2 separate regions of the Homo sapiens genome follow, and region 2 is linked to region 1. The links are contacts of gene promoters, found by promoter capture Hi-C in blood cells and fetal thymus (Javierre and others, 2016). All regions are on one chromosome and are shown on one strand. Each heading gives the region's core, a stretch centred on a gene start or on the middle of the fragment in contact. The rest is flanking DNA. Distances are from core to core; before and after follow the strand shown.

Region 1 (5,140 bases), core at 734-3,233:
ATTTCTTAGAAGTTTTGGCATACAAAGGAGTATTGATTGGCTCCAAATCTTCTATTTCTTTCTTTTAACCATCTTTAGAATGTATTATTTTGGGAACCCATGTCTGTTTGGAGATTCATGGAGTGTCACATGGGACTTTGAGAAGTTGCCTGTGGTTTGAACAGTCTCTCTCCTGCTTGGCCCCAATTCTCTGAATCCCTGGGGTGGAGCTGGGATCCCCTACACGGATTGGCTCCTACACCTGACTGTTCCACGCTGAATCCCAAACCGCACACCCTCCGACCTCCCCTGTCGCGCTAATTCCACAAACCCCGGGGGCTGGGGGACCCCTGAAGAATTCCGCTGACCCTTCGGGAGATTAGCTTTAGCCTCAAGTTTCTTGCTGAGAATGGGTGGGCGGAGAGGAGGGGCCGGCTGAGGGGCTGGAAAACATCCCTAAACGTTAGCCTGGGCCCTGAAATAGTGCGGGAAACCAGAGCTCCTCTAAAGACAGAGGCAGGATAAAATTAGAAGACGTGGAAATCCCTAACGGAGGGAAGCTGGGCGGCAAGAGGGATCACGGTTATAACGGGCCAGTGGACTCCTGCAGCGCTTAGTCGGATCGGGTGTAAGGGGCCCTAGACGTCTATTTCAAGACTGTGATGGTTACCTCCACAACTCTCTTTAGGGCTCCTTAGGACTGAGGAATACTTTTTTAAAGCCAATTTTCCCGCCTTGTATGGTGTGCCTGAGCTCTGTGACCGCGCATGCAGAAATAGGGGTGTGTGTGTGTGTGTGTGTGTGTGTGTGTGTGTGCGCGCGCGCGCGCGCGCTTCCCATGAAAGCTTCCCCTAGAAGGTTGCCTGGCTTGGCTTGCCGTTACGCGCGCTCCCGGAACAAAGCCGCAGTGGGAGGTCCCGGCCCCGCTTGCCTCCTTACCTGCCGGCAGCCAGCTCCGGGCAGCCCAGCCCTGCACCGCGTGCAGGTCGGCTCGCGTCTGCCGCAGCTCCTCTAGCACCGCGGCCAGGGCGCGCCCCGCCTCCTCTGGGCGCTGCGCCTCCGCGCCCTCCATACGCGCCAGCCTGCGGCCCGCGTCGCGGGTCGCCTGCAGCAGCTCGTCCAGAGCACTGGTCAGCCTGGCCTCTGCGGGAGCCCCCGGCGCGCACGGCCTCGCCAGGCTTTCCGCGAGCCGGCCCAGCTCCTCCCGCAGCCTCTGCAGCTCGCCCCGCAGGACGTCGTCCGTGGCTTGCAGCAGCATGCGCTCTCTCATCTGCGAGTTCTCCAGCATGATGAAGAGCTTGTCCCATTCCGAGTGCTCCTGACCGCAGGCGCACGGCGTGGCTAGAGTACGGGATACACACACGTTAGCAGCCCGCCCAGGCCTGCCTTGGATGTGCTTTGTAAAAGCTGACCTCCCTCGGTGGTGCCAAGTTGCAGCCCGTTCCTGGCATTCCCCTTCCCTTTAAGGACACCTCCGAAAAACAGCATGTAAATGTCTCAGAAACGACAGAAATCATTCATTCAGGTATAGATTAAGTTGTACCCTATGAAATCGCCGGTTATGTAGCTCAAAACAGTCAAATATTGACGATTTGATATGATTCAACCCATTATGTACGTTACAGAAATAACTTTGAAACCTCCATCTTTCTTCAAGTGCTTCTCACTTTTGCATAACAAGCTATAAATTTTTAACTTGTCTCACTGGCCACAAAGTATATGTGTGTTATTTAGACCAAGAGGTGGATATGTAGTCAGGGTTAGCAGAGAAACAGTTAAAGTGAACTTACGGTCCTCAGTGGGATGGAGTCCATTGTCTATTTCGTTGTCCAAATTCACATACATGAGATCATAATCATCCGAGTTCTCGGCCAACACTGCAGACCAGAGAGCACAAAACAGAATCGCAAGGAGATGCATTGCTGGAGAGACGCAAAGTTCTTTCCACAGCTGGCGGGAGGAGACTCTCAAGTGAGCTGAGTTTGAGCGGAGGAGAGTGAGAGTGAGAGGCTGGAGCAGAGAGTCCTTAATAAATGCTGAGGAAAGCCTGAATGGGGATGAATGAGTAATGCTGGTGGCACTGCGGTAACGGGAGTTCCCCTGAATTTGGTGGGGGAGGGGGCTGGGTGGGAGAGCGAGGGAAATGTGGAAGTTGCACAATATTAAACCGCAAAGGTTTACGCTGCAGTCAGATTAATTGGAGGAGGGTCAGAGGGGAAAGAGGAGAGAAACTGGGCTTCTACTGTTCTCCTGAGAATTAGCTGTTGTAATTTGAATTGATAGCAATGGGGATGAAGGAGGGGTGGTAGGGGAGAAATTTCAGAGGGTACTGAAGCAAATCATCATTTCAGCATTTTCTGTGAGCTGTTATTATTTCACAACCCTTTATATATAGAAAACTTTCCATGTTTCCTTTGTACACTGTTTTACAGGTTGAAACTGAAAATGGTCTGATTCCAAGATAAACCAACATATTAAGAATAGTTATGGCTCTGAAAGTCAAGTCCAATCCGAGCTATCTTGTCTTTAATACTTGAGGAGTTGCACCTATACTTTTATAGATAATTTTTTTTTTTGAGACTGAATTTCGCTCTTGTTGCCCAGGCTGGAGTGCAATGGTGTGATCTCGGCTCACTGCAACCTCCGCATCCTGGGTTCAAGCGATTCTCCTACCTCAGCTTCCCAAGTAGCTGGAATTACAGGCACCCGCCACCACACCCAGTTAATTTTTGTATTTTTAGTAGAGACAGGGTTTCACCATGTTAGCCAGGCTGGTCTCGAACTCCTGACCTCAGGCGATCCACCCGCCTTCGCCTCCCAAATTGCTAGGATTACAGACGTGAGCCACCTCACCCGGCCTATGACAAACAACACAGTACAACTGGGTAAACCTAGAATGGGGAAAAAAAGCTGGGGGAAAAAAGGAATATACTTATTTAGTTATTTAGGTATGTTTCTTTTCATAACTTGGTATTATGTGGACATTATATTATTCTACAAGGTTTCGAGGCAAGGATCATGTTTTAAAAGTAAACTTAGAGATTTCTGCTTCTAACAATATATACAGGTCTGTGTTCACATGATATTAATAAAAACTTAAAAGGTACAGATGAGCTCCCATTAAAGTAAGGGGAAAATCCCGGAGCCAAAGATAGAGAGGAAAGCAAAAACAACAATCCCATGAGCTGATGCTAGGGCCCCTCTGGCATAGGAGTGAAGTGAGATAGGGGTTATTAGTTCTATAACCACCAAATGTTGATGACCATGTGGAAGCAAAGCTTAGGCCAAAGGTGGAGAGTTAGAAGGGAGATCCTCATGAAAGCCAGGACCCTCACAGGGTTACCTACTGTATTTCAGTAGGTACAATCCCACTCTGCCCTAGCACAAAGAGGTAGGAAGCAATCATGTCTCTCTTTGAACTCTACAAGGTCCCTTTGAGTTTGTGAAATTGGGCCTGCCCTCAGATATGTTTAGAATTCAAATATATACTATCTGCCACTGTGAAAACAAAAAAGAATTCACAATGATATTTGAACATATGAGGAAGCAAACCACTATAAATGAGAATCAGCAGAAACCAAAAAGGATTAGACACCTCTCCCCAAGAACTGCATTTAGTTGAAATATCAGCCAAAAAACTAGAAAATAAATATGTTTAAAACTACTGAAGCTCTAAAAGAAGGAATTGGAAATATGAGAAAAGAATAAGACATTGTCAAAAAGAAAAAGGCTAGGTGATTTTTTTTAAAGAACCAAATAAAACTTCTAGAATTAAAAAAAAAAGTTAATTGAAAATTTTAAAAGCTCAAGGCATGGATTAAGTGGCAAATTAGGCAAAGCTGAAAAGAATATTAATGAACTGGAAGACAGATATAAGGAAATAATCTAAAATGTGCTGCTTTTATGTTCAGTAATAGGATTCTAAAATCATTTCATTGTTCAGGAGGACGAAAAAGAAATTAATTAATTTTGCTTTGCTCAAAAATATTTGTTATAAGTTTAAGGACAACTACCAAATGGACATAGGCATCCGAATAGAAGGTGCAGGGGGAATTTTTAAAGAAAGACTTGATCTATGAAAAAAAAATTAATGAAGGAGGAAAGAAAAGCACAGAGAAGGATAAGTTAAAAGTACAATATTATTTGCTAAAATTAAATCAAAATATACCAATAATTACCATAAATATTAATGAAACACATTTTCCAGTTAAGAGACAAATATTTCTATTTGTCATATAGAAATATTTTAGTCGGGGCTCACGTTCAGAATCCCAGTACTTTGGGAGGCCAAAGTAGGAGGATCACTTGAAGCCAGGAGTTTGAGACCAGCCTGATCAACATAGCAAGACCCTCATCTGCACAAAAAATTTAAAAATTAATCTGGTGTGGTGATATGCACCTGTAGTCTCAGCTACTCAGGAGGCTGAGGCAGGAGGATCACTTGAGCCTGGGAAGTGGAGGCTGCAGTGAGCTGTGATCACACCACTGCGTTCCAGCCTGGGCGACAGAAAGAGACCCTGAAAAAAAGAAAAGGAGAGAGAGAGAGAAGAAATATTTTAAAAATCCAGCTATACATCACTTACAAAAGCTATGCATAAAACATAAAGTAGAAATGTTAAAAGTTAAAAGCTTTAAATTGGAGGGGAGGAAGAGAACACACCAAGCAAGTATTATTCAAAAAAGCTAGCATAGCAGTAGTAATATCAGTAAAAAATAGACTTAGGCAAAAGAGGATAGTTAAATTATGATACAAAGAAATACTTTAACAGGAAGATATCTCTGAATTATCTAGTAATATAGTTTCAAAAAATATAAACCAAAGGTTGACAGAATTATAAGGAGAAATGGGCAAATCCATAATCATGGAGGGAGATTTTAACAAAGCTGATAAGTTCACATATATCATAACTGATCATTCAAATGCGAAAAAAAAGCCTGCCAAAGGATACAGAAACTTAAACTACATAACTTAAAGCTTGATATAATGAAGTATATAGAGTACTGCCCAGATGGTTTGATGGACAAGTTCTACCAAACATTCAAGGAACACATAATCCCCGTTTTGTACAAACTGCTTCTGAGAATAGAGTGTTCAGGAATGTGCTAAATTCATTTTACATGTCTACTAAGTATGATACCAAAAAGAGAAAAGGACAATACA
Region 2 (5,140 bases), core at 1,033-3,532, 170 kb after region 1:
ATTGGGGGTCTTATCACTGAGGTGTCAGATCAAATGTCATCACCTCAAACATCCAAGCTCTTTCCTGACCACTGAAATGCATGCATGTACACCAAGCCCCCAAGTCACTTACTCCCTATTCTATATTCATCATAGTCCTTATCACTATCTTACAATATATTTGATATGTATTTTCAGTGTTTGTTTGTTTGTTTGGTTTTTGAGACGGAGTCTCACTCTGTTGCCCAGCCTGGAGTGCAGTGGCGTAATCTCAGCTCACTGCAACCTCCACCTGCCAGGCCCAAGCAATTCTCCTGCCTAGCTTCCCAAATAGCTGGGATTACACCCAGCTAATTTTTGTATTTTTGGTAGAGATGGGCTTTCGCCAAGTTGGCCAGGCTGGTCTCAAACTCCTGACCTCAGGAGATCCACCCACCTCGGCCTCCCAAAGTGCTGGGATTACAGGCATGAGCTGCTGCGCCTGGCCAGTTTTTAGCCTTAATTTGGAGTTGACAATGGAACAGCCAATTGAATAGTCATCCGGAAAAAAAAATAGCCTTAATAGTACTTTGTTTATGAAAACTCTACATTTCGGCTGGGCATGGTGGCTCACACCTGTAATCCCAGCACTTTGGGACGCCAGGGTGGATGGATCACCTGAGGCCAGGAGTTTGAGACCAGCCTGGCCAACATGGCAAAACCCTGTCTCTACTAAAAATACAAAAATTTAGCCGAGCGTGGTGGCGAATACCTGTAGTCTCAGCTACTCGGGAGACTGAGGCAGGGGAATCACTTGAGCCCGAGAGGTGGAGGTTGCAATGAGCTGAGATCGTGCCACTGCACTCCAGCCTCGGTGACAGAGTAAACTGTCAAAAAAAAAAAAAAAAGAAAAAAAAGAAAAAGAAAAGAAAAGAAAAGAAAACTATACATTTTATTATTTTTATCCTGAAAATGCTCTGTGAAAGTGGACAATCCTGTGAGGCAATTATTAGACCTATATTAGAAAAAAGAAATGGTAGTGTACAAAAGGCAGGTTGTGTTCATAGGGTCAAACAGGCACAGTCCAGAATTTTTCCAAACTGATGGAACAAATTTTATTACTTTCAAGGTGCTATGAAAATTGAAGATAAATATATATAAATAAACATTGTCCTACTACAGATGGAGCTTTCCATTGTCCCCTTCTGCTGAAATCAGATGCTTTCATCTGAATTTGAAGAGTGAATCTTATGTTGTTGGTAAAAGGAATAAAATTATTCAGTTCAGCGTCTAAACTCTGACATTGCAATGGATCTTCTAATTCTATGATCATTTGTAATCATGCACACTCTGCTTCAATGTAAAATTAGTCCATTCAGTCAACAAATATTTATAGACTTCCTACTATTTGCCAGGCACCATGTTAGATGCTTGGTGATTCAACAGAGAACAAAGCAAAGACCCTGCCCTTGTGGAGCTTTCAACTGAATGAGACAGAAAGATATTAATCAGATAAGCACTAATATCTATCTACAAATGATAATCCCTGATATATAAGAAACATGCCATGTGCCATGAGAACATATGGGGGAAAGCCACCCTCATCTGGATTTGGAGAGGGCTTTCCAAAGGAAGCAACATTTAAGTTGAAATGTGAAGTGATCAGTTGTTGACTAGGTGAAGATGGGAATACAGAGAGGGGAAAGAGAGTACATGTGTTCCAGAGAGTGAGACTAGCATGTACAAGAGTTGGGTAAGTTTGCCTTTGCTGCTTGGTGTTACCGCTTTAGGAACCATGTCTTTTGGAGTGCTGCATTGACTTTTGCTGCCAAATAGCTAAATATACTTGGGTTTATGATTATTTATAAAGCTATATTTCCAGCAGTTCATGTGTCATAAAGCATGGAAATTTGTTTTTTATTACCTAGTTACTGGCAAAATCAAAATGAAGCTTATGGCATACTAGATACTTTGTGCCAACATTTCAAACTGTTCCAAATTAATTTGGTTATTCCAACATTAGAAACAGAACACTATGAAACAAAGAAACCAAGCACAGAAAGCTAAATATCCAGATAAACTTTAAATACTGCTAACAGATGCTCTTTGTGTGAACCAATTTCTTTTGAAAATGGCAATGAGGGCTTTCAACAGTTTTCCATTGTCATATCTGAATTGTGCATTCTTTTAGGGACAAAGGAGGAAAGGTTAACCAAATTCATCATTTATTAGCCTACTTTCCAGGTGTGCTAACTGGGTTCTGGTACACTGTACAGTTCTGACTTTTGATCACCTACCTAGTAAATATTGGAAAATACATGGCATGATTATTCTGCTACCTTCAACAGTTGTAAATCAAGATGGCCAGCCTCTCATAGAAGGAAAACTTAAAGAGAAGCAAGTCAGATGGAAGTTCATCAAAAGGTGGAAAACACGCTATTTTACACTGGCTGGAAATCAACTTCTGTTTCAAAAAGGAAAGTCTGTAAGTTCCTCCATCATCTTTTACACTTGCATTTTTAAGGTTTTGATCTCCACCAATAGCTAAACGTTTTGTCTTGGGTTTAAACTCTAATAATTTTTCCATCTCCATTTCACCATCTTACAGCATTGTTTTATCACACATTTCTGTGTCTAGTCTGTTTATTCCTATGTTAGTTGATTCACTGTCCCCTTCCAGTTTATTATGGAAGCTTGTTTTAGTTGACTTTTTAGTTGAACTGCAGAGGGACTGCAAGTCTTGACTCAGACACCGTGCCCTTTGTTTCCTTGTGGACCACGTACACAAATTTATGACTTATGATATTGGCTCTGATTTTTTTATAGCTATAGTTTATATTTGGAAATGGGGGTCCAAAAAAGGAGGACATAGACAAGGAGGAAAGAATGAAGGCTGATTTACTTTAGGTACTTTTTATAGTCAACAAAGTTTAATTCTGATTAAAATATTACTGTCTTTCATCTATTTAATATTCAGTTAATGAATATAATAGAATTATGATCAAATTAATAAATATTTAATATAATTTTCCATTTGAATAGGATGTTCAGTAATTATTTGTATTGTGAATTTTCAGTGGGAAACCTCTGAAGTAGCATTCCATTGCAATCAATAATGCAAAGTTACCTTCTCTTCTTTTCAAATTGGTTTTATGTATCATTAAACTCTCCTGATTCAGGATCAAGAGGAATCAAATCTTGACCTACTTCTTGGCTATTTTAGAAAATAATCATAATGACTAGCATTTTTTCAGTGCCTACTATGCAACACCTTGGATTGCCTCAAACAATCCTCAAAACAATCCTATTAGGCCACCACTGCTATTATTGCCATTTCACAGATGAGGAAACTGAGTCAAAGAAACTGATTGGATTGTCCAAGGATAAAGCTAATAAGGTGAGAAAGGGTATAACTGGGGTCAAGATCAGGCAGTGTTACACCAAAGCATGTTCTTAAATGAGTTTACTGCTTCCCATGTATACTTAAAATACAGAGTCAGTGGTAAACTGTACTCACCAGGGATCTCCATAGAAATGGAACCAATAGGATATATAAAGACATATACGAGATTTACTATGGGAATTGGCTCATGAAATTATGGAGGGTGTGAAGTTCCATGATATGCTGTGTGCAAGCTGGAGAACCAGGAAAACTGGTGGTGTAATTCAGTCTGTGTCCTAAGGCCAGAAAATTAAGGGAGTCAATGATATAACTCCCAGTCCAAGGCCAAAGGCCTGAGAACCTGGGTATGGCAGTGAGCTGGGGGGAGGGATGTAAGTCCCAGAGTCTGAAGGCCCCAAAACCAGGAGCTCTGATATCCACAGGCAGGAGAGAATGCATGTCTCAGTGCAAGAAGAAAAAGCAAATTTATCTTTCCTCCAACTTGTTATTCTATCCAGGTCCCCAATAGATTGCATGATGCCCACCCACAATGGGGAGCATGGATCTTCTTCACTCAGTCCACTAATTCAAATGCCAGCCTCTTCCAGAAACACCTCACAGACACATGCGGAAATAATGCTTTCCCAGCTGTCTGGGTACCCATTAGCCCAGTCAAGTTGACACATAAATTAACCATCACATAAACCAAACTGTCTGAATTAATTAATGAAAAGTGGTAAATTAGTTAAAAATTATAATTCATTCTCGGCCATATGCACTATATCTTTAGAGTACTCATTATAAAATGTATTTGAACATTTTAATCAGTATGAATCAAGTATCGTGTATTCTGACCAGTGCTCTTTTAATTAATAAGACTTCTGTTAACTTTTTGAATGAAAAAGAATATTTTTTGTGATACCTACTGTGTAGTCATGCTACTTTCTTCATCTGTGTGTGTTATAACATATACAGATGGACTTTTCTGTAGCTGAACATCTTTTTGAAAGGGCAGTTCAATTTAGACAGCTATTGGAAACTTAAAGAAATTTTTTTAGCATAGGTTCACACTAAAGCATGTTTAAAGTGTTTAAAATGACTACCTGAATTTTCTGTTTTTATTCAAGAAATCAAGAATAGAAATGAAGACGTAGTAATTTTCCAGATCCCTTAAGACAAAGCAGAGTTAATCTATGAGAATGTTTTTCTGAACTCAAATAATGACCTTTATACTTTCTGATTCATGGCTTTTTTAATAAGGTTTAAAGAAAAAGCAATTTTATAATTAGGTAACTTGTTTGACATGTTTATCAGGAAATAATGGTCTGACATTCCATAACTCTGACAAAACTTGCGGCTCAAATAGTGGGAAATAATTTAATATAGCATGAAGGCCACAGCAAAATACCTCTAATCTCCAGGGAAACAATAACCTACCAGTGGTCAACAATCCTGCTGAAGCTTCAGGTCCTTGTAAAAGGGCCCCTTTTAAATGAAAGAAATGTGCATTTTAAAATTAGAGCTGAGGTTGAAAGACTCTAGTGGAAGACTCTAATCTTTCACTTTTGCATTTTTAAGACCTTGATCTCCACAAACTAGCTAGGCAATAGTGTCCTTTGACTTTCTATCTATTCCTGTCTCAGTTGATTCACTGTCCATCTTTAAATTACTATGGTAACTTTTTATTTTCGTATCAATCTCTGTACTATAGACTACTTCAAAGAAATGCAATTTTATTACTGTCAGATACTTACTGTAAACCAAATTAGGCTAACAAAGTATTGTCTAGTGTGTATGTCT

What was found. The method cuts DNA at HindIII sites, captures the fragments that hold promoters and counts their contacts. A CHiCAGO score of 5 or more calls a contact.
Region 2: a fragment that was not itself captured here is called in contact with the fragment with the promoter of PTX3 in region 1 in 1 of 17 cell types (endothelial precursors); the score reaches 5.8 in endothelial precursors.

What each region holds. Positions count from the first base shown.
Region 1 is chr3:157,433,693-157,438,832 of GRCh38, reverse strand. PTX3 (pentraxin 3) reads right to left here and starts at 1,983. Exons shown (of 3, transcript NM_002852.4): 1 at 1,770-1,983; 2 at 919-1,320. The coding sequence starts at 1,899. The region is part of intron 4 of VEPH1 (ventricular zone expressed PH domain containing 1); the gene reads left to right. The HindIII fragment of the contact is 2,433 bases long and covers 827-3,259 here.
Region 2 is chr3:157,262,829-157,267,968 of GRCh38, reverse strand. It overlaps VEPH1 (ventricular zone expressed PH domain containing 1), which reads left to right. Exons shown (of 14, transcript NM_001167912.2): 13 at 2,307-2,443. The region is part of intron 3 of LOC101928236 (a long non-coding RNA gene); the gene reads right to left. Among named protein-coding and RNA genes, the nearest start is that of CCNL1, 110 kb to the right of the region's middle. The HindIII fragment of the contact is 742 bases long and covers 1,912-2,653 here.